Regions from separate parts of the Homo sapiens genome. Here all the other regions are linked to region 5. Evidence: promoter capture Hi-C in 16 types of primary human blood cells and fetal thymus (Javierre and others, 2016). All regions are on one chromosome and are shown on one strand. Each heading gives the region's core, a stretch centred on a gene start or on the middle of the fragment in contact. The rest is flanking DNA. Distances are from core to core; before and after follow the strand shown.

What was found. Contacts are between HindIII fragments. The CHiCAGO score rates a contact against its expected background, and 5 or more counts as called.
Region 1: a fragment that was not itself captured here is called in contact with the fragment with the promoter of ZFAND3 in region 5 in 1 of 17 cell types (total B cells); the score reaches 7.1 in total B cells.
Region 2: a contact is called between a fragment that was not itself captured here and the fragment with the promoter of ZFAND3 in region 5, in 1 of 17 cell types (total B cells). The highest score is 5.3, in total B cells.
Region 3: a contact is called between a fragment that was not itself captured here and the fragment with the promoter of ZFAND3 in region 5, in 1 of 17 cell types (naive B cells). The highest score is 5.1, in naive B cells.
Region 4: a contact is called between a fragment that was not itself captured here and the fragment with the promoter of ZFAND3 in region 5, in 3 of 17 cell types (M2 macrophages, M0 macrophages and monocytes). The highest score is 7.3, in M2 macrophages.
Region 6: a contact is called between a fragment that was not itself captured here and the fragment with the promoter of ZFAND3 in region 5, in 1 of 17 cell types (naive B cells). The highest score is 6.1, in naive B cells.

The regions. Positions count from the first base shown.
Region 1 is chr6:38,554,002-38,557,859 of GRCh38, reverse strand. The region is part of intron 6 of BTBD9 (BTB domain containing 9); the gene reads left to right. Among named protein-coding and RNA genes, the nearest start is that of BTBD9-AS1, 74 kb to the right of the region's middle. The HindIII fragment of the contact is 2,930 bases long and covers 137-3,066 here.
Region 2 is chr6:38,712,642-38,716,550 of GRCh38, reverse strand. DNAH8 (dynein axonemal heavy chain 8) reads right to left here and starts at 1,240. Exons shown (of 93, transcript NM_001206927.2): 1 at 1,136-1,240. DNAH8-DT (DNAH8 divergent transcript) reads left to right here and starts at 1,336. Exons shown (of 2, transcript NR_186581.1): 1 at 1,336-1,485; 2 at 2,253-2,381. RefSeq lists a silencer at 1,204-1,253. The HindIII fragment of the contact is 557 bases long and covers 1,862-2,418 here.
Region 3 is chr6:38,644,704-38,648,583 of GRCh38, reverse strand. The region is part of intron 1 of LOC105375044 (a long non-coding RNA gene); the gene reads right to left. Among named protein-coding and RNA genes, the nearest start is that of BTBD9, 6.7 kb to the right of the region's middle. The HindIII fragment of the contact is 1,281 bases long and covers 1,937-3,217 here.
Region 4 is chr6:38,501,164-38,505,031 of GRCh38, reverse strand. The region is part of intron 6 of BTBD9 (BTB domain containing 9); the gene reads left to right. Among named protein-coding and RNA genes, the nearest start is that of BTBD9-AS1, 22 kb to the right of the region's middle. The HindIII fragment of the contact is 452 bases long and covers 2,148-2,599 here.
Region 5 is chr6:37,817,328-37,821,391 of GRCh38, reverse strand. It overlaps ZFAND3 (zinc finger AN1-type containing 3), which reads right to left and starts at 1,665. Exons shown (of 6, transcript NM_021943.3): 1 at 1,376-1,665. The coding sequence starts at 1,446. It overlaps ZFAND3-DT (ZFAND3 divergent transcript), which reads left to right and starts at 2,005. Exons shown (of 2, transcript XR_007059569.1): 1 at 2,005-2,814; 2 at 2,902-4,064. RefSeq lists silencers at 1,039-1,208, 1,369-1,598, 1,639-2,018 and enhancers at 1,297-2,099, 2,069-2,458. The HindIII fragment of the contact is 21,540 bases long and covers 495-4,064 here.
Region 6 is chr6:38,578,877-38,582,949 of GRCh38, reverse strand. BTBD9 (BTB domain containing 9) reads left to right here. Exons shown (of 11, transcript NM_001099272.2): 5 at 2,513-2,732. Among named protein-coding and RNA genes, the nearest start is that of BTBD9, 59 kb to the left of the region's middle. The HindIII fragment of the contact is 3,488 bases long and covers 249-3,736 here.

The sequences.
Region 1 (3,858 bases), core at 352-2,851, 740 kb before region 5:
CAACTTCACAGTTGGTTGTGTTATACATTGTCACTGAGAAAGAAGCTACTCTCATATCTAAATAACTTTACCCCCCTTATTTGTAAGGCTTAGAAGATATGTGCCTGGTCTGGGACCTCTGTTTTTTTGGGAAGCTTTGTTTATAATATTGGCGTTATCAAGGGATTCTGACAGAGTCCTCATAGTGATATCCTAATACCTTGTTTTTATAAACAGGTAGAAGGTTTACATTGTTGTCATAATGCCTGGAAGAAGGAGGAAAATTATTTATTAGCTAAGATATGGTTTATAACATAGGTAAGGCCCACAATTTTCCAGACACTGAGTATTTCATTTGGTCTTACCCAGGAAATAAGTATTATTGTCCAACTATTGTATTTCACAAATGAGGAAACTGAGGCTTAGAGAGCATATTGAACTTATAATCACACAGCTAGAACATAACCGCTGGGACTGAAGCTGAGGTCTGTCTGACTCTAAAGGTCTTTTTATTATTTATTTATTTATTTATTTTGAGACTGAGTCTTGCTCTTGTCGCCCAGGCTGGAGTGCAATGGCACGATCTTGGCTCACTGCAGCCTCTGCCTCCGGGGTGAAGTGATTCTCCTGCCTCAGCCTCCTGAGTAGCTGGGATTGCAGGCGCCTGCCACCACTGCCAGCTAATTATTGTATTTTTAGTAGAGACGGGGTTTTGCCATGTTGGCCAGACTGTTCTCAAACTCCCAATCTCATGATCTGCCCACCGTGGCCTCCCAAAGTGCTGGGATTACAGATGTGAGGATGTGAGCCACCGTGCCTGGCCCTTTTTTTTTTTTTTTTTTTTTTTTTTTTTTTTTTTTTTTTTGGTGAGATGGAGTCTCGCTCTGTTCCCCAAGCTGGAGTGCAATGGCCCGATCTCGGGTCACTGCAACCACCACCTCCCAGGTTCTAGCGATTCTCTTGCCTCAGCCTCCCAAGTAGCTGGAATTACAGGCGCCACTACATCTGGCTAATTTTTGTATTTTTAGTAGAGACGGGTTTTCACCATGTTGGTCAGGCTGATCTCGAACTCCTGACCTCAGGTGATCCACCCGCCTCGGCCTCCTAAAGTGCTGGGATTACAGGCATGATCCACCGCGCCCGGCCGAAGGTCTTTTTAAACACACAGTGCTGTCTTTTTCATCTCTGTTTATCATCTTGTGGTATTATCTTTTTTTGTGTGTGAGGCTTCAAAGATTAAAAAAAAATGTTTTATTTTGGACTTTGGATTCTGAAGTAATAACTTTTACTCCTGGGTGATCAAATCTCTCTCTCTCTCTCTCTCTCTCTCACACACACACACACACACACACACACACACACACACACACACACTTTATAGGACAAAGATAATATCCATATGCTTGCTATATATCTCTTAATCTTCTAAAAGCATTTGCCATTTGACTTTCCAGACCCCTTAGTAGGTCTGGAATCTGGCAGTTGTCAGATATACATTTGAATGCTTAAATTAATAAATCAAGATTTTAATTTTGCTGTTATAGTTAGTGAATGGTGCCAGATTGAAATCATTTTCATGATCAAATAGTGGGATGCATACTAGTTATCATTTTATTTAGTCTATTTATACTATGATGATAGGCCATGCAGACAGGAAACATTAAAATGTAGAATGTTAGGATGTACCTTGGGATGTGCTTCTAGTTCCCTGAGAAACCTTTCTAGTTCCCAAAGACAGGCATTTCCATGATGACTGTGGCCTTTCGTATATGATGCCCTTGTTAGCTGAATATTCATTACCTCGAGCCTTGCAGTTTTGAAGGTTGCATAGGGAAACAGAAGTAATCATAGTATAAAAATGTTCACTAATGAACTGTCCACGTGTAAAATTAGTTCCCACTCAAACATTCATCCCTGTGAATTCTATTCCTGCCCATCCCATTAGTTATAGTGTTTTACTGATTGTTCGGAAGATGTAAAATCAGTGTACTCAATTGCAAAGTCAGATGGCAGATTTTGCAAAAATACAAGAAATAAAGATTTCATGAAATAGAGAAAAGTGAGGTTGAAAAGCTGCCAGACTGACATACGAAGCCATTGGCAAATAAAATTCTGGCAGCATGAGACCAGTGAATAATTGAGAAAGAGAAAATCCACCAAAATGATGACATGGTAAGCATTTCAAAAGAAGAATCTGACAATTAAAAATTAAAGGAATGTTGGTGATGTCCAGGTATTTTTGGAAGAATATTCTTCACTGTAATTGTGCTGGGGAAGTTAGGAAATGCTAGAAAAACTAAAAGATATCTAACAACTGTTTATCACTACTACTGCTACTACTACTATTTTGGTTAGCACATAGTTGCATTTATTACATACGTTTTGTTAAGTAGAAGATTAAATATATACTTACATTTAATCTCAATTTTTAATGTAATGAAACCCCTTTTCCACATTCACTATGGAATTTTGGTCGTTATTTCAAGTGAATTCACTTTAAATGTCCTTTTTCAGGTAATTGTTGTTCTGGAATAATGAGAACCTCCTGTAATGGGTTATATACTTGTCTTTATGTGTCTGTGTGTCTTCCCTCTCCAGTTTTGCTGGTAACGAACAGCAGCAACAAACACAGGCAAGGAGAGTTAGAGATGGGGTGAGTCATCCTTAGTAAAATTGTCTTTTAACCAGTGAGGCAAAGAAACAGAACCTTGATGAGCAATAATCTATTCTAGAAGAGTAGCTAATCAGCAGATTATACTTTTATCTTGGAGAAAGGACTGCAGGTCACTCATTAAATCAAAAGGCATTACATAAATAAAGATTTCCAGTTTGGGGGTACTGGAGGGGACTGTAGCAATATTGTTTTTGAAGTCTTTGTTTCTCTTTAGTAGCATCACCCATAGCTTTGATGTTACTCACACTCTAAGATGAATACATTTTGGAGCTTCCTAATCCATTTGAAAAGGAAAACGTGTTTGTAACTTTACCAGCCTTAATTTGGCCTACTGGTAGACTTGGCAGGCTCCGCTGCAACAGCAAGAGTGGAGTTTCATATACCCTGCTGGCTGCTTTCACTACAGCCAAGCTTCTGGAAGCCCATTATTTCTGAGGATACCATTCCTTTTTGGATTTTTTTTTTAAGTCTTAGAGTCTGGGGAATACCCCAAGGTTGTGATAGTATCCAAGAATTCAGTGTTTTGGGGATTTTGAAATCTGTGAAAAGAACATATATCACTTGAAATTACAATGCACAGTTGATTTTCTGGTAACTTCCAAACAGTATGCAAGCTCCGTTCTAATAAAATCAGAAGATTATTTTTTTGGGAACTTGAAAAGTAAATGTATACCTTAAAGCCATTTTCTAAATAGAGCTCATTCATTATGACCCACGTTTGCATTCATGCCTCCCTTGAACTTAGGCCAGAATATTTATCTACAATTTAAATAGCAACACGTTAGTTAAGTGCTTGATTTAAAGTGGCTGGCACTTCCATTTATTTTTCTTTTATTGGAAAAGTTCATTCCTCTGAGAGGGGTTGAATTAGTCACTGTATAGTTGAGATAAGTCCCTTGATCTGGGGACAAAACATTCACAGGATTTGTGTGGCTGTCTATAGCATCTGTGTGACAGGCACATCATGAATCTCTTAATAGTTGTGAGATTGCTTTTCACTCAAAAGTATGATGTGTGACTGACTCCTTCTTCTCTATTTTATGGCAAATCATGTAGCTCATATATCATGCTAGCCATAAATCTTAATTTATGTTTGTCTGAGGATTTGACTCTGAGATTTACCTTCTTAGATGCTGAAAATATTCAATACCATATGGTTTCTTTTATTAGTATGATCAAAATTTTCATCAAAATGTTGAAAAGTT
Region 2 (3,909 bases), core at 891-3,390, 890 kb before region 5:
AAAAAGAAAGAAAGAAAACTTGACGGAGAAGGTACCACCCGAGTCGGGTCTAAAGAAGAGTTGTCAGGAGAGGATGGGAGAGAGAAACATTATAGGCAGAAGGTGGGAACAGTGGCGTACAAAAGCAGAGAAGCAAAAAGAGGCACAACTATCTTGGGAAAAGTGGTAAATTCAGTGATGAGACTTTTGGGCTAGAGGGGAATGAGAAGGGTAGAGGAACGGGAAATAAGCCGGAGGGAGAGGCATTTTTTTTGTTTTATTTTTGAATTTTTAAAAATATATAGGTATATGGCCGGGCGTGGTGGCTCATGCCTGTAATCCCAGCACTTTGGGAGGCCGAGGTGGGCGGATCACAAGGTCAGGAGATCGAGACCATCTTGGCTAACACTGTGAAACCCCGTCTCCACTGAAAATACCAAAAAAAATTAGCCGGGCGTGATGGCGGGTGCCTGTAGCCCCAGCTACTCGGGAGGCTGAGGCAGGAGAATGGCTTGAACCAGGGAGGCAGAAATTGCAGTGAGCCGAGATCGCACCACTGCACTCCAGCCTGGGCGGCAGAGTGAGACTCCGTCTCAAAAAAAAAAAAAAAATATATATATATATATATATATATATATATATATATTTATTTATTTATTTATTTATTTTAATAGCTTTTCGGGTACAGGTGGTTTTTTTACATGGATGCATTGGATAGTGGTGAAGTCTGAGACTTCAGGGTCATCCAGGTAGCATACATTGCAAGCGATATGTAGTTGTTTCATCCCTCACCCCCCTCCCACCCTTCCCCTTCTGAGTCTCCGAAGTCCACTATACCCCTCTGGATGCCTTTGCGTAGCAATAGCTTAGCTCCTACTCATAGGTGAGAACGTGCGGTATTTGGTTTTCTAGTCTCAAAACGGGGAGTGGGTGTGAAGTCACTTAGATGTCCAGTGTAGAGACTGACAAAGGGTAGTGACTCAGCTGGGGTTTTGAAGCAGGGGTTCCCTGGGTTCAACTAACAGAGGTGGAGGACTGAACTGTAGCGTGGATTCCAGTCCCCTAAAAAGAAGGAAAGTGGGCGGGGAACCCGGCTGCATCAGGGCCTCCCGGACAGGGGCCGGGCGCTCACAGCGCGCTCCGACCAAGTACTCACCAGCCGCTCTCTGGGCCCCGATGCCCCGACCACTCAGCCCACTGAGGCCGGCCCCAGCGGTTGCGCTGCCCCGGGGGAGCTGCTCCGGCCTCCGCGGCCCGGAACGAGGCTGACGGTTGGGAGTCCGAGACAGGCTCGCTCGGGGGCGAGGGCTCCGCAGTGCGCAGCTCCCTACGGGGAGCGACTGGAGGGGCACGGGCAGCCCCCGCGCTCCCCAATAAAGGATGCACCCACCGAGCCCGAGGACTGAAACATTGTTTAGGGGACCCCAGGCACTGAAGGGCGGGTTCCTGGAGATGGACATTTGGAGTGCGGTGCCAGGGGCTTGGGAGGATTCCCGCGTATACGTGGTAATACGGAAATATATAAAATAATGTTTTCTATGACCTTTACAGTTTCTGAAGTTACTTAGTGTTTTCCTTGAGAACCTAAAAAGTGTTTCCTGGTGAGTCAGTGTGTTCAGAAACCTGTGACTGATGAGAGAGAAAGATTCTGGGGGAAAACTGACTTCTCTCCCAAGTCCACCCCCTCCCCTCTCTAGTACGGTTCTGCTTTTGCTGTGACTGCCTGACATGATGTGAGCGGTCCGTTTTTAGTTGGGTGTGTTAACCAAAGAAAAAAAAATCAGTCATTTAAATAATTAATATTAGTTTTATTCAGATGTCTTACTAAGGATTGCAATCCGGAGAGTCTTTCAGAGACTTTCTGTGAGACTGCTCCAAAGCTTAGGTACAGGTGGTGGCATGTGATGGGAAGTGGCATCAGATGTGCTCAGCAGTTACATCAAATGAGCTCAGCAGTTACATTAGAGCAAAATCTCATCAAGGGTGGGGTTCAAGGGTACATCTGGTTATAGATTGTAGAGGCATAATCATTAATCCTATCAGCTATTATCTTATTATGTACAGGAAGAGGCATGAGTTAGGATCCTGGAACTTTTGCAAGAAAAGATTCATGCAAGAGATGTTATCATCTTCAGGGGCATTCTTCCAGGGGCTGCACTTAGTCACTGAGTTAGGGGATTTGTGAAATGTAGCTGCCAAAGAATTCTCTGACATTCTGCTGGCAAGCAGAATGAGCAAATATAGCTTCTTACATAAACTATTTTGTCTTACAGGTGTGAAAGTCAGTCTTTGAATGTAGAGCAGATCAATGTGGAATGAGGACTGAAAGGTCTGTCAACTGAAAAAAAAAACAAGAATGAATATAAAAAATCACAAATTAAATAAACCATGGTCCATCCATATTAATAGACATTACTCAGTGATTATACAATATAAGCTTATGGGAGCAAGGGAGTTCCTGAATATCCTTGCTGACTGTGCCGAAATGCAAGACCTACCTACCCTCTAACTCTGAGCCACTTCCTTAACCAATCTTTAGGCAACTCAGCAGGCCACAGCAACCACGGCACGAAAAGGCACAATTGCTCACTTCCTGGGGAGAGGGACTAGCTTGTTTACTGCTCGATACAAAAGATACTGAGCACTTAGCCCTAGATTCTTTACCTGCCTCCCAGTCCACTGCCTGCATCTGGGTCCACGGGGTTGCCCATTGGGACTTGGGGTTGGGGGAACCGGCCTCCCATATGATACTCCTGCCATTTGTTGAGGTAGTGTTGAGGACAAGTGCTCTACCTCTTGTCCATCGAATCTCATTGTTTACTTTTGGCACTGATGGAGCTGGGGCAGGTTTTATACTTGCCTTCTTTTCCTGTCCCTATGCTGTCTCTCTATTCTCATGTAGTAAGAAACAAACCAGAATACCATATTCCTTAATAAAGAGCCTTAAATATATTCATTCATATGCCTTAACCTACAAATGCCTCTTTTGAAAATATATTCCTAAGAAATAATACTAAATATGGACAGAGCTTTGGTTCTAAAGACATGTGTTGCTGTATTAGGTTTGTAGCACCGTGATCCATGCAATAGTTTCATTAACTCTGGCAGAAAACTAGCTTCATGGAATACTGCCAAATGATAGCAACCCTGAGAATGCCTGAGATACAGGAAAACTGTACCTTCCACAGAGTTCTCTTGAGGCTTAACAGAAGGTAAACCCCATGCAGCACTTATATAAGACATTAAGTGCCCACGATCCTGAGTATTAAGTGTCCCCGAAAATACAATGAGGGAACACATATAAAAACACTTAGCACAGTAGTACATGGTAATGGCTAAATCAATGCTAGCTGTTATTTGTAGTAGTTTAGTATTAGTGTGTGTAGTGAAGAAAAATACTGAACCGGTAATCAGGGAAACTGAGTCCTGTTACTGTGCTACTCAACAAATAACCGTTTAGTCGACTAAGCCTCAGATTGTGAAACTGCTCTATTACTGGATGTCCTTATTTGTAAAAAGAAATGGGGGAGTTGAGATAATCTCTAAGTTCCCTTCCAGTTCGAAAAATGTCTAACTCTATGACGAGTTTGGTTTCAAGCCTCATCAATTGAGAGGAAGATGATACTATTGACCGAAATAAAAATGTCAAAACAACCAATTGGAAATGTCTAGGTGTTGTAGGGAATATGCAATTAAGGTGCACAGATTAGCAATATTTGCTATGTTATAATTATCCTAAAGTACCACATGGTCATATTATCAAATAACAATTTAAGTAACCAGTTATTCAAGTAAAACATATATAATATTAAATAACTATCCACAGCTCATTCCTTTGAGCTTTTCTTGAAGGATTATCAGTTTGTGGCTGTAATGGCACATTTATATCTTGTTTAGTGTGGTCCATTCTACTTGCAAACAAAAATCTCT
Region 3 (3,880 bases), core at 1,328-3,827, 830 kb before region 5:
CTACTAGAAGAGAATACTGAGCAAGATTGTGAGAAAATGATTTGATGGGAGAACCTGGGACTTGAAGCTTCCCACTTATGCTTGTCAACCATTACTTCACCTATCCATCTCCCTCAGGAAAAAAAAAAAAAAAGCAAAGTTAAGAGAATGACATGCTGCAGAGCTGCAATAACATTAAAAGACAATTCATCGTTTTAGCTCTATTTATCTTATGTAAAATGCTAGAGAACTCATAAACAAGATATACTCTTAGCAGAGAAGGGTGTATACGTTTTTTTTTTTTTTTTTTTTTTTTTTTTGAGAAGAGTCTCGCTGTGTCACCCAGGCTGGAATGCAGTGGCACAATCTCAGCTCACTGCATCCTCTGCTTCCCAGGCTCAAGCAATTCTCGTGCCTCAGCCTCCCAAGTAGCTGGGATTACAGGTACACACCACCATGCCTGTCTCATTTTTGTATTTTTAGTAGAGACGGGGTTTCACCATGTTGGCCAGGCTGGTCTCAAACTCCTGGCCTCAAGTTGATCTGCCTGCCTTGGCCTCCCAAAGTCCTGGGATTACAGGTATGAGTCACTGTGCCTGGCCAGGTGTATAAGTTTTAACTTTTACCTGAAGTGAGGGAAAGGGACTAGGAATAAGATAGTCATCATAAGTGTATTTACCATTCATTTTCCTAGTTTTTTCACAAACAACTTGAAGTGGCTAGTGAAATTACAAACAGAATGTAGAAAATTATAGGTAAGCCGGCTGGGTGCAGTGGCTCACCCTTATAATCCCAGCACTTTGGGATGCCGAGGTGGGTGGATCATGAGGTCAGGAGTTCAAGACCAGTCTGGCCAACATAGTGAAACCCCATCTCTACTAAAAATACAAAAAATTAGCCAGGCGTGGTGGTATGCACCTGTAATCCCAGCTACTTGGGAGGCTGAGGCAGGAGAACTGCGTGAACCCGGCAGGCGGAGGTTGCAGTGAGCTGAGATTCGCCATTGCACTCCAGCCAGCCCAGGCAATAGAGTGAGATTCCGTCGCAAAAGGAAATTATAGATAAACCAGAGAAGGAGAAAACCCAAACTTAAGTACAAGGTTCAGTACCAGTAGAAAACAAATTAGAATGCAGATATACAGACCACAGGTTTCTACTCAGGCACTAAAATGGAGCCACACTTTGACTCAGAGCTTCATGGCAGCTAAGGTGAAAAGGAACACATATCCAGCTATGCAATTCACTTGCTGTAAGCAAGACACATCAGTTATTCAAGAGTAGCCAAGCTCTTCATGATACCTGGCTCTGAAAGAAAATTCTCATGTGATCAAGTGCACAGTAACAATCCTATAGTAAAAGCTATTGGAGCTTAGAAGATGATACCCCAATATATGGCACTTTGAAGTACTAAAGAAGCAGCTTCAAAATCTGACACCTCTTCACCCACATCCCATCTCCAATCTTATCTCTCCTAAAGCTCAGGATGAGGCTCTTCTCTTTAGTTCCCTTATATACCTATAAATTGGACCCATCAAAGAGGAACACAATTGCCTTTGATTCCCTCCCTGAAATTAACTAGAGATTAAACCTCACATCAGAGGAAGAGACTGAAAATTAAACACCACATGTAGAGCCCAAACTTTGTCCCAAACTATCATCCACTTTCCCTTCCCACTCAATTCCCAAAGAGAATCATTTACTAACCATTGCCTGAGCATTGGAGCCATTTATTCCTCCTAAAAATAACTTACTGTCCCTTAAAATTACCACATCTCCCCCATCTCTCCTTCTCTTATTAAGGGTATATAAGCATCTGGACCTCGTTGTGTTACTGGATAATCATTCTCCTGTGATTCCCCTGTGCTTATGCACGTTAATAAATTTGCATACCCTTTTCTCCTAATCTGCATATTGTCAGTTCATTTTCAGCACAGCTTCAGAGGGCAGAGGGGAAGCTTTGCCTATTTGCCCACACAATGCACTGGTGGGCTCTGTGGAGTTGTCTCTTCCAGAATTGCTTAACATATGCAGAAGACACAATACTCAAAATACAAGCCATGAAAACACTCTTGGTGGTGGATGAGGAAAGTTTCTGTGTGTGTGCTCAGGACAATATGGTCAGGTATGCAGTGTCCTGATGGACCAGCTAATATTGTGTGGCTGACTAAAGGCAGATACATACTGTTTAGAATTCAGTAATCTAAAAAGCAGATGGTAGAGGGCTGACAGCCTTTTGTGAAGAGTGAGTCACCCTATTAAGATTCTCACCTAAATAGGAACATTCCTCTCCATATGGTAGTGAATAGAGAGAGCCCCTGCAGGCAATCTAGGATTTTCCTTAAAAAAACAACACTTCAAAAATAAAAAAAATAAGTGTTCAAGACCATCAAGTTCCATCCAATAGAGCAAGAGGTCTGCGAACTCACAGACAAGTCATGTTTTTCTTTTCTTTAAAAAAAATTCCCATTAGTTACCAATATTTAGAGGTCAACAGATTTCAAATCTGGCAACTTTGGATGCTTATACCACATAGCAACAATCTGCTGGGCTGAGTATAGAGTACTTACCCACCTGCCTAGGCCATTTAGGCATTAGAATGCTCTGTTGGAGAATGATCAAAATTTGGATTGAAATTTTTCAAAGAAGAAATGATCAGTTGCTCACTCTGACGGTAGGAAAATCTAATTAATGCTCCCATGAAATGTATGGCTTTTAGCAAAGTGGCTGGCCAGTAAATCTACCTGGAAGAATTACTTGCAAAACATACCCTTAAGTAAATAAATTAACGTGGTATTTAGTTACTGGATCTAAGCCAATTAAATTTGAGGACATGTGCCCTAAAAAATTATTTTAGTTTTGGAACAGGTGATCTTGATCCATTCCTTCTGATAAACGGTGAGCAACAAAATCAGCCATAAAGTTTATTATAATAAAATATCATCAGCATATAGGAAGATAATGGGTTTTTTGATTTCTAAAGCGAGGGAGCATGTGTCCAAATAACCTAAAAGTGGTTTCAAATTACTTAAACATAAGTTAAAAACAAGAAGGGCTACAACTATTTTATGCTACCTAAAATACTTTTTGATCCGTCTGAACAATTCTATTGATCTGGACTTTCCAGGTCATACAGAAGTCTTGGTTTTATATGAACCTGGATTCTATATTTAACTCATGCAACTTAACCTGAAACCAGCTCTTATTCACAGAGTCAAAGCATGAGAAATCATTTGAAGCTTCAAACGTTCTTTTAAGAACAAAGTTTATTTTTCTAATTATAAAAATTATCATTGTACATTGTCAACAATTTGGAAAATAAAGAAAATTTACATTATTTTTCTCTCAACTATTTATTTTTAAAAATTTCAAAGCAACAGAATACAGATATGCAGGCCAATTCACCCACTTACAAACGCTGAGCCAACAAATTTACTCAGAGCTTCTTGGCAAAGTGAAAAGTGAAAAACAGGCAGTTATATAATTCACATTGCCTATAAAGAGAAAACACATCAGTTACTCAAGGGTAGCCAAATATTTCATGACTTGTGGCTCAGAGAGAAAATTCTCTTGTGTTCATATGAGGAACACAGAGTGATATCACACACAACAACCTGTCAACTATGCCTTCTAGAATTCCTCAGTATAAGGGAAAGGGTACATAGTATGAAGCCTGGGGGGTTAAAAGCATGGATTCGAATCCTAGCTTTATCACTTATTAATTGTACCTTGAGTAATTACTTAACTTTCTATGCCTTGGCTTCCTGTTTTATAAAATATTGTGAATAATATCACCTACTTCAAAGGGCAGTTATGAGGCTTAAATGAACTAATGCCTACAAAACACTTAAACATAGATAACATAGGTGCAAGTACTATGTATCTGGTACATGGTAAACATCCT
Region 4 (3,868 bases), core at 1,124-3,623, 680 kb before region 5:
GAATAAGCAACTTTGTTAAATGGTTCTAATAGAGTCAGAAAAGTGTCTATGAATTTGGCATCATCTAGATTAATGGTTGCTATTACAAAAGCATTTCCAGTGTTTTGGTGGAAACAGCAGACAAGTGAAAGGAAGTAGAGCCATAGCAATTGCACCGGAATCGACCTAATTCATTCTTTTGAAGGCTGTATGATGGTTCATAGATGCTTCTACCACAATTTACTCAACCTTTCACTATTGATGAACATTCCCTTTGTTTTCATTTTTGTCACTGAAAATAATAGTACAATAAACATTCATGTTTCTCTGTCTCTGTGTTCATCCTTACACACTGGTACAATGTATTTATATAGGAAACATTCTAGGAATGGGCTTCCTGGGTTGAAAGATAGGTGTATTTTATATAATTTTAAACTATATTGTTAATAACTTCCCCCAAAGCCTAAAAAAATCCACATTTCACCCGCAGTTTATGAGAGATCTATGATACAGGAGAAGAGGGATCTAACTGACAGTGACAGTGCAAAGTCCTCAAAAGGTAAGAGGAGATGTGGTCTAAAGTTCAGTAGAGGGATTGGACTTTCATAGGGAAAGGGAGGAAGGAAAATTATAGATGCCCATAATTTTGTAGTTTGGGTAGTGGTAACATGAGGAAGTTTGTAGTCTCCGTAAAATAATAGCCCATCATCAGTTAAAGAGGAGGTTACTTGGAAAGCTCAAAGCACAAAAGAATTCCTAGAAAGTAGGAGCGGGAGTGTAGTAAGATTGCTGAGCAGTGTTGCATTTGAAATGAAGTCCAATTGTGTGATTTTTCTCTAGCCGTATGCAGTTACTTGGGTTTGTGCCCAGAGAAGATGGATACTTGAGATCATCTAGGGCTGAAGTTTGCCAGGCATGTATGATGGAAAGAGACAGACGGGGAAGTGAGGGCACTCTGCAAGGGAATGATTATATATAGACCATAGTATCTAAGCTGAACAGAGGAGGGAAATGAGGGCAGAAAGGGGTTGTGAGACTGTGGCGGGATCAGTGGATTAGAAGGTTCAAAGAGGGGCAAGAATTTTTAGCAATGGAGACAATAAAGCAAATGAATAGAAAGGATGGGAAGGGCTGTTAGAGTGTGATATATTTGCATTTAGATTTTGGCAGAGTTATGATTTTTCTTGACCAACTGAAGGAGTTGCCCATGGATTTGAATCACTGAGGTTTAACGGAAGAAAGGATCCCTGTAGTTGAGGAAATGAAGGACCTGGGAGGCCAATATATTGTTTACATAGTGTGCATTATTGTTGGCGTGTGATGCCAGCAGTAGGAGTGGAGGAAAAGTGAGCCAGGAGTGTAAGTTTTTAGTTTGGTGGGATGAGTGTGAAGTTGGTAGGTAATGGTGACTGGTGTGGGTGGAGCTAGAACTGTGAAAGGGCAGGGAGAGTTGCAAGCAAAAAGGGATGAAGTGGTTTGAGAGTAGTAGGGGGGAACAAGGACAGCTGCCTCCTCTATCTCCTGGCTCTGGGATTTATGGGGCATTAAGAGAAAAAAATAGTAACTTGAGAGGGCTGTTGGGGAAGCATGTTTAACTGCTAGTGATAAGAAATCAGGAGAGAGAGAGGTTGGAGAGGGAGAGGTTGAAGAGCAGAGCTACCTGAGAAGGGAGAACAGGTAGATGGGCTGTAAAGTCTTGGTGGAGAGATTAGCCTGGGCCGTCTCCTGGAGAGAAGGGGGAGGGCAGCAGCCCTGTTTGTGGGTTGTTGGCTAGAGGCTGCCCCTCCTCTTTCATTTCTGCAGAAGGCAGCGGGAACAGCTGCTGAGAGTAGGGCGATGGGGGATTGGGTAGGAGACATGAGAGGAATGGAGGAGGTGTGATGTAGCTGCTGTGGAGAATGGAATAATAGAAGTGACACATAGAAAGAGCATGAGGAGATAGTGAGGGCTCAGCTGAGATTGGAGAGTGAGTTAGGCATAAACTCACTTCCCTCCCTTTTCATTACACGTAGAATGTCAGTTTTCCCCTATTTCCACCAAACTGAATTAATTGCTTTCTCATCTGTTTCCATAGTGTGGAGCACCTACTTTTATATCACTTATCACATTGCGTTACAGTGATTTACCTGTTTTCCCTTTCAGAGTGTGAGTTCTTGGACAGTAAAGCTTATTTATCCTCTCTTCATGATCACCTAGAATAATGGCTGGAATGTAACAGGCACTCAGTTAACGTTCATTGAATTGAATCAAATTGCACAAGTATGGTCATTTTATTTTCCTAATAGCTCTTTCCCTTCATGAATCTGATGCCATATATTCTAAACAACTTATTCATTTCTGTGGGCACAGTGTGCTCATTAATGATAAGCCATCCTATTTCTGTGTTACGCAAGAGTAAGACCTGCGCAGAAGATGAAGATATCCTGCTCATCTCTGCAGGTTTGGTATTTGTGTATTTGCCTTGGGGATTTCTGTCAGCAGAATGTTTGCCTCGTTATTGACCTTGGTCTATAGGACATTCTCAGAGTCCTCTTCCCTTAGCATTCTTTCCCTTCAGAGCAAATGGTACTGGTCTTTGTGATTTGAACATGGTAGGAGGCTGGACATGGAAGAGAAAGCTTTTCTTTTAATAAAAACTCAACAAGCAAAATTTAAAAATCACCTTGCTTCCAAAATGTTGGAAATATTATACCAAAATGAAGAGAATACACCATGGAAAAAAAATGTACTCATATTGTTTCGTGGGTAGCAAAATGAAGGTAAATTAAGTGTTATTCATATTCCATGTCAGTAGCCAAAGCTCTGAAAGACTTCTTTAGGTTCCCTCTCAGACAGAATTATAGAATCTTCTGTTAGAACAGACCATGGTGAGCAGCTGGCCCAGCCACCCAAGCCAACATTTGAATCCCCTTTACAACATCCCCATCTGGCAGGTGTCCAGCATCAGCATCTCTAGGGATTAGCAGAGTTCTTGACAATAGAAACCAGCTTCTCATTGACACCAGGATATTGCAGATTGCTATCTCTATACCAGTAGTTCTCAAACTTTTGTTCCCAGGAGCCCTTTATTCTCTTAAAAATTGTTGAGGACCCCAAAGAGCTTTTGTTTATGCAGGATATGTCAATATTTATTTGTTGTCTTAAAAATACAACAGTAAACCCATTACATGTCAATATAGATATCATTTTTGATGAAAAATAACTATTTAAAAATTAATTTAATGGAGAGAGTAGCCTTGCAAATCTTAATGTCTGGCATAATAAAGAGAAGACTGCTGGATTCTCCATTTCTCATTCAATCTGTTGTGACAGAACAGGTGATGGAGCCTGTGGAAAGCTCAAGTGCACAGACATGGGAGGTAAATAACTTCTCTGAATTCAGAAGTTTTGATCTCACAGACCTCCCAGAAGGGTCTCAGGGACTCCCAGGAGTCCCCAGACTACATTTTGAGAACTGTTGCTCTCTTATACACCAAGGGATGGGATTGGTGATGTAAATTGGCAGGGACTGCAGTGAAAGAAAAACTAGATGCAAAAAGGGGCCAAGAAAAATGTACTCACATCTATGATCAACAAGTATTGAGTGTTTACTATGTGCCCAAGTGGAAAGCACTGAAGATACAGGTTGAGTGTCCCTTATCTGAAATGCTTGGGACCAGAAGTGTTAAGGATTTTGAACTTTTTTTGATTTTGGAATATTTGTATTATACCTACTGGTTGAGCATTCCTAATCCGAAAACCTGAAATCTGAAATGCTCCAATGAGCATTTTCTTTGCTCATCATGTTGGCACTCAAAAAAGTCAGATTCTGGAGGATCTTGGATGCTTGGATCAGGGATACTCAACCTGCACTAACACTCGCGTCAGGTGTTCTCTGTCTTCTTCAATG
Region 5 (4,064 bases), core at 416-2,915:
GGGAAGACTAGAAATATTTTCACATTTTTAGGACTTTTTATATGCCACAACTTATTTTTGACTAATGTCCTTCCACAGGGAAATTTTTGAGAAAGGCAGAAAAATGAGAAAATGAAAATCCACTTCTTTGTCATAACCTTGAGATACGACAACTTCCACAGAAGTCTACATTAAGATCCACTTTCTAATCTTTCTCTGCACTCCCAAAATTACTCTTAATTTCTGTTAACCATTCCTACAATATGGGAGATAGCAAAGGGAAAACTACTTCCATACTTCTTCCCAAGATGTCCTCACCAGAAACAATCTTCCTTCCTGCCTCTATGTCTCCAAATATACGGAATCTCTCAAAAAATAAAACTAAAACAAAACGATAAAAGAGAAAAGGGACTCAAATCACAAAAGCCAGCCTTCAAAGTCTCCAGCTTTCTTACTGCAGAACTACAGTCATGTGGTATGATGGAGGCACCTGTTAGGTGGCAATCCATGAAGCTTAAAGTGTTACCAGGAGAATTTAAACAGTAATGGGGGGAGGAAGAGGAGCTGATTTCCCACCTCACATTTTTTTCGCCTTAACACATGATGGCCAAACAATATATGCTACCCACTGTCAACATTTTTATCATTTTTACTTAAATTGAGAAAGAGGAGAATTTGAGAGCCAACTGAGGAAACTGGATCTCATATTCCCCAATCCAGGCTGACTTCAGGTTTTGTGTGGTTTTTTTCTTCCTTTTTGACAAGGAAATTTTACATATCTCCTGAAACGTGTTTTACATGAAGGTGAGACCTCAACAATCTTATAACTTTACCCCAGCCTGGTTCTGGACTCGGTTTTTACAAACGGGTGACGTGTGAATAGCTTCCTAAAAGCAAATGGGGCACTGGGATATAATCTAGGAAGTGATGATGCAAGTCTCCGGAGGACGGGGAGGAGGGGAGGTGAAGAAGTCAGAGGAAATACCCTCCTAGTGCCTGGGCACCAACTCACGCCCCGGGAGGGAGGAAGGGCTGGCTTCCACATGCCCACGGAAGGGGCACCCCTGCTCCTCCCGGAGCGGTCAACGCCGCCCCCTCATCCCTCCCCGCCGCCCTGCCCCCCTCACCCGTGGCCCAGGAGGCCCCCGTGGGCCCGAGCTTCAGGCCGGCGAGTCCCAAAGGGTAGCAACGCACCCCCGGCAGGGCCTTCTCTGCCCACCCCCAGCTCCCCACCCGGCACCCCTCCCCGGAACGCGACCCCCACCCCCTCCCCGTAGGCCCGGGCTGGGCCCAGCCTCCAAGGTTCCGGCCTCCCGGGCCCCGAGGCCTGCCCAGGCTGCCCTGGCGTCTGCGCCCCCGGCCCCCGCCCCCCGCCCCCACCCGGCCGGGCACTTACCCCCAGAAGCCGCAGGGACAGCGAGGCGGCAGGCTGGGCGCTTTGCTGCGCTCGCTCCCAGCGTCTCCCATGGTGCTCGGCGGCGGCGGAGCTCGGCGGCGGCAGCGGTGGCGGCGGCTGGGCCCGGGCCCCGCTCTGAGGAGGCGGTGGCGGCGGCGTCGGGGGGCTCGGGGCGGGGGGAGGGGGAAGGAGCGGGCGCGCGGGCGGGCGCGAGTCCGGGGCTCGGAGCCGGGATTCCAGGCCGGTCAGCTGGAGGCGGGCCGCACCACTCGGCCTGCGGAGACGGGGAGGGGGCGGAGAGGCGCGGAGAGAAGAAGGAGGGAGCCGAGGAGGAGGGGCGTGCGGACGCACCGAGGACCGCGGGGGAGGAGGGACACAGACGCCCTCGGCGGGTCTCACCGCCGCTCCCCAGCCAGAGAGATGTCCTGTGCGGTGGCGCAGGGAAGGACCGGAGCCCCCCGCCGGCTCCGGAGTCGCAGCGGCCGCTCTGAAGCCCCGGGCCCTGCTGTCTCCGTAACACCGTCCCCTCCCCCGGAGGCTGCGCTGACCGGACAATGGCCGCTCCGCCCCCTCCCCGGCGTGCGCCCCTCCCGAGGAGTCACAATGGTCTCGCCCGGGGGAGCCAACGCCAAAGCCCAGCCGCTGATCAGCTGGGATCCGGGCGTGCCACTTCGTTCCGCGCCTCAAAGGCGGAGTGCGGGGCTGTGGGAGAAAACGAGAGCCTCGGGCTGTCGCCCGGCGACGGGCGGCTGAGGCCTTCGTATTCTTAGAACTTTTAGAATCTGAAGCAAACTTATCTTCCCCCTGTCTGAAGAAGGGGAGCAGGTTTCTGAGTACTCCGGGGCGCGGTGCCTCCCCCTAAACGCGAATGGTGCGCTCCAAGCGGGAGGGGGAGGAGCAGATTAGTTGTGTAGGGTAAATTGGGCCAGTCCCAGAGTGGCGGCGCATGCGCCCGTAGAACCCGTAACCGAGTGCGAGGAGGGGCCTGGGGGAGCAATGCCAAACGCGGAAGTGGAGCTCTGGCTTCCCGGGGGCGTCGGAGTCAAGGTCCCTGGAGCTGCCGCTCTGGCTCCTGGGCGATTCCGGGGAGCCATTCTCCCCAATTTGCCAACTCCCTGGGCATCTCTCTCTCTCTTCCTGGTCCCGCCACACCCAAACAACTCTTATAGTTCCACCCGGTATACTGGTCTCTTGACAGGAACTTTTGGGAAATGCCCCTCCCCCAGCCCCTTGTCTGGGGCAACTTCCTTGTCTCTTCTCCCCCACCGGTGTTGGGGAGTTCCTTGTCTCCACTCCCAACCACAGAGCCACAAGTACATTATCTATGCCCAGGCGAGTCCCTATGCCCAGGCTAGGAGAGCCGCACTTCTTCCTACAGCTGACACGTTTGGTTTTTGGAGGGGAAAGGGGAGCTGTAGCTGAATCAGTAATGGAAATTGGTAAGTGACCAAAGAAGTTTGAGACACTAAAAAAATGAGTCCTTTAACGATCCTAGTCCTTGATCCTGAGCTCATTCTGATCTCCAGTTAGTCATGAACAGAGAAATCGATTATTGATGACTAATTCAACACGGAGGCAACATCCTCCAGACCTTTTGGAGACCCATCGCTGAGGAAGACTTCCTGGCTCTTAGGAATAGCTGCCGTATACCCTCCTTGCCTGTCGGGTATATCAGAGCCTCAGAGAGACTATTACCTAGATTAATTTGATTACCAAATGTTGCTATCTTATTTCTTTATATACCAAATCACATTTCTGTTTGTGCATACTGTGTGGGTTTGTTAACATTGATGTTTATTTTGGCCTCTAAAGAGCAAGGATCGCATTTAGCTTAATATGCCACAGATGCTGTTGATGGTGAAGTTAATGATTGCAAAAATCAAGCACTTAAAGCCAAAACACCCTAAAATGTGAGTGCTGATTTATTATGCACAATGTTTAGTTTTAATTTGGTGGATTTTCCAAAGCCTTCAATAAGTATATCTGTAAGAAAGTGCATAGAAAAAGCCGGACGCTGTGGCTCACGTCTGTAATCCCAGCACTTTGGGAGGCCAAGACGGGTGGATCACCTGAGGTCAGGAGTTCGAGACCAGCTTGGCTAACATGGTGAAACCCCGTCGCTAGTTAAAAAAAAAATACAAAAACTTAGCCGGGCATGGTGGCACGCGTGTAATCCCAGCTACTTGGGAGGCTGAGGCAGGAGAATCGCTTGAACCCGGAGGGCGGGTGTTGCAGTGAGCCGAGATCATGCCATTGCACTCCAGCCTGGGCAACAAGAGCGAGAGCGAAACTCTGTCTCAAAAAAAGAAAGAAAGAAAGAAAAAATGCATAGAAAGGATAAAGCCATACAGCACACCTTGCTCTCATTGGATTCATATTACCCTTAAATCTTCATTTAAGCCGACATAAAATTCCCACATGCGTGAGATACTTAACAGCCTTTGAGTTTAACAAAGATTAAGTGGGATTATCTCTCTTGGCATCTTGATGATTTTCTTTTATGTACAGAAAAGGAAACTCGACAACTAAAAGGAGAATTCAACATAAAAAGTGATTGTCATTTTCCAAACTGCTTTCCTGTTTGCCAGTTATTCAACAAACATTTATTCAGTACCCAGTATACACAAGGACTTTGCTAAGCACTCTGGAGACTAAAAGGATTAATAAAATGTAGCATTCACCAGCAGGT
Region 6 (4,073 bases), core at 743-3,242, 760 kb before region 5:
ACCTTGCATGGTGCCTGGTACAGGATGAGTCCTCAGAAAAATGCCTTTTGACTGAATACTGAATGAGCGCTTTATATGTTACTTTAGCATATATTATCTGTAGTGTAATTTTTATCTGTAGTGTATTTTTTACAGTAACCCTATGAGGTCAGTTGGACAAAGTATTCTTTTTAGATGAGAAAGCAGATTCAGAGAGACTAACAGGCCTTACTCAAGGGGGGTGAATGATAGAGCCTGAATCTTAAGCTTGGTTTTTTTCACTTTAACATTTTTTTCCCCTATATCATACTATTTGTTTCTTTCCTCTGGGTCTAAGGCAATTTTAGAGGGAAGTGGGGGTTAGAAAGAGGGAGAAGGTATGGCCATTCATCAGAAACCCTTCAAGAGGGAAGGAGCAGAATATTCTGTTAAAAACAGGGCCTCTGCAGGCAGACTGCTTAGGTTCTGATCTCAGCTCTGCTACTTCCTGGCTTTGTGACCTGGGACAAGTAAGTCTGTCTAACTTTTTTCTGCCTCCACTTCTCATCTGTGAAATGGATGTAATAATAGTACTGTACTCAAAGGATTATTATGAGGAGTAAGTCAAAGGAATTAATATTTGCAAAGTGCTTAGGACAGTGTCTAGCACGTCATGTATTATAGAAGATTTGTTAAATAGGAAGAATATGGGTGATTATCACACGCTAATAGAATTTAGAAAGTTATAAATCGATAGCACTTAAACTTCTGATGGTAAGAAGTTAAGCATAACTAGGATGTTTTGTTTATTTTTGCTGGGTTGCTACAGTCTTTTGCTTCCATTTTAAACTTCCATTTTTCAGCTGCAATATATTGTTCTTTTCTGGTGCCACTCTCTTTACTCATCTTCATTTGAAATTAAAAAAAATTTTTCCAGAAATCTGCAATGATGAATTACTATCTTTTTGCCAATAACCTGATTATAGCCCAGACTTTCCCGTATTCAAATCACACAACCAAAATGTATGTGTACTGTGAGAATTCGGTATTTTTTTACAGTCTGTAAACATACATAGTTCTCTTATCGTGTGCTTTTTAATATGTTTTCTTAATAGTAATGGCTGTATATTTTGAAAATATATGTATATATGAGTAGAGCTCATAATATGCTTTACAAACATCATCTCATTTAATTCTTAAACAGAAACACCTGGGGGATAGATATGGTCTCCCCCCCACCCCATTGAGAAATGGAAGTTGAGAGAGGGAAACTTCTTCAAAGTGATGCACCTGGCTAAATGTGGAGCCACTGTTTAATCTCTGACTCTTCAAGCTCTTAATATCTTTCTGCAGCCTCTTGTCTTTCCATGGAGAGTGTCAGTTTTAGAATGTTAGTACCTGGAAGATAGGTTCCACATCTGTGAAGCATAATTTACACGGAGGACTTCAGAGTCCCAGGCACAATTGGTGGTTAATAAATCTAATGTTGGTGAGGGGAGGGGATTTAATAATAACCATAATACTGATTTTGATGACAGACTATCAATTTTCATTTTTAAAAATTCTCAAGTGCAGAAAAAAGATATCTTTTTTAAACGATCTTGTTTTATAAGCTAGATTAATTAATTTCAGCATATTCATATATAACTAACAGCTATGCTATATTGGAACCTTTCTTTTTCTGTTGTTTTAACAGATTTCTGACCTGTTTGCTTTGCTTTTATACATTGTCCTCAGTCCAGATGGCAGGTACAGGTCATCTTACATGCTATTTTTGTTTAGTAGATTTTTTTGTTGTTGAGACGGAGATTTACTCTTGTTGCCCAGGCTAGAGTGCAATGGCGCGATCTCAGCTCATCGCATCCTCTGCCTCCCAGGTTCAAGTGATTCTCCTGCCTCAGCCTCCCGAGTAGCTGGGATTATAGGCATGTGCCACCACGCCTGGCTAATTTTGTATTGTTAGTTGAGACGGGGTTTTACTGTGTTGCCCAGGCTGATCTCGAACTCCTGACCTCAGGTGATCCGCCCACCTCGGCCTCCCAAAGTGCTGGGATTACAGGCATGAGCCACTGCACCCCGCCTGTTTAGTAGATATTAAAGTTACTAGTAGAATGAACTCAGCAGAGCTGATTTGTTTGTCCTAGTACATGCCTTTTCTAGTTTTATTAACTTTTGAAAAATAACATTAGTCTCAAGCACTTTGTGGTTGTGATACTAATATTACATTTAAACTCTGAACATTTTTTTTGTTTGTTTTTAATAGGGACAGGGTCTTCCCATGTTGCCCATGCTGGTCTCAAACTCCTGGGCTCAAGTGATCCACCTGCCTCGGCCTCCCAAAGTGCTGGGATTACAGGCATGAGCCACTGCACCCGGCCTCTGAATGGTGTCTTAATCCTCATAGATGTTCTGTATTTTCTATCCAATAAACTTGTCTATGCTGTTCTTAAATGCAGATACTAGAATAAACTGGAATGCTAGAATTGTATTTTTTTCAAAAAATACAGAATAAATAAGTAATCATTAACCTTGCTTTTTCTATTTTTAACTGTAGTACCAGAAGAAAACATTGCAACTATGAAGTATGGAGCCCAAGTTGTAAAGGGGGAGCTGAAATCAGCCTTATTAGATGGTGATACTCAAAATTATGATTTGGATCATGGATTTTCAAGGCACCCAATTGATGATGACTGCCGTTCCGGCATCGAGATTAAGCTAGGTCAGCCATCCATTATCAATCACATACGGATACTCTTGTGGGACCGAGATAGCCGGTAAGTGATTAGCATGACTTAGAAACTGACATTATGTTTGAGATGACTTAGCTTTGTGGTCATCTACTTTTGTTTTACAGATATGATGGTTTATTTCTTTGTGATCATTCTGCTATCTCTTGAAGGTTGGTTTTGGGGAAGGAGTTAAAGGATATATTTCTTTAAAAGAAATACACTTTTTTGTTTGTTTCTTCTTATAAAAATATGTGTTTATTGTAGAAACCATAGAAAATATAGAAGAGCACATAGAAGAAAATAAAAATTGCTAGTAATCTCATTACCCATTATTAATCTTCATATGTATCTAGCATTTTTTTCAATTATGCATGGACACATACACACACAAAACAGAAACCTGCACAAACATAGTTTTATAAAATGAAGATTAGATATACAAAAAGCTAATTTTACTTTTAAATTAATACATTGTGAACACTCTACCCTTTAAAAAATATTCCTCTAAAATGTATTTTTAATAGTCGTTTTGTATTCTACCATGAGTTAACATTATTTACTTGATTCATTGGTTTTGAATATTATAACCTTTTAAATGCATTTTACCATATGGTGAAGAGAAATAATGTCTTTTAGTGTGTAGATAAGTATTATCCTCAAAACAAAAGAAATTTGTGAAAAAGTTTAATGAACTCCAGTTTGGGAACCCATTTAGTTTCTTGGGGGCTTCAGAATTCTGCCTTTCTTCCAGCCACTGTGATGCTTTCACCCACTGTGGCTTCTAGGTTCAACCATAATGGCAGAAGTACCAGAGCAGTATGAGTGACAAGAACTGAACTGTTTCCTTCATTGCTGTTTATCATAAACCTAAACCCTGCATACCCAGAAACTGTGCCCCACTTATGCCTCTTCAGATCTGGGCATGAAGGGCTTAAATAGTAATGATGATGATGCCCTGCAAACCTTACAAGGTAGTGTGTTTCTTCTGTTAGCACAACTGCCACTATACTGGCCTTTTAGGCCATTTGAGCCAAGTATGAGGGGAAGCTTTATGAAGTGTGAGTCAGCATTTCCCATGTACATGATGTGTGAGATCCCCAGGTTATCTTTTCCTGTTTCCTTTTTATTAAGAATATATTTTCTGATATGTAGCTTATGGATATAATTTGATGTTTTTAATTGGCAAAGTGGAGCCAATCCACATATCTCATTTCCAAGAGTCTCTGATTAATTATAACAGTATAATAATAATATGTATATGCAGTACTTTCATTACTTTTATGTGGTAGACACTGTTCTAAAAGCTTTACGTATTTCACTCATTTAACTAATAGTGAAGTTATTATAAAAATAATAAAAGAAAAGTTTAGTATGTTTGAAGCAAAG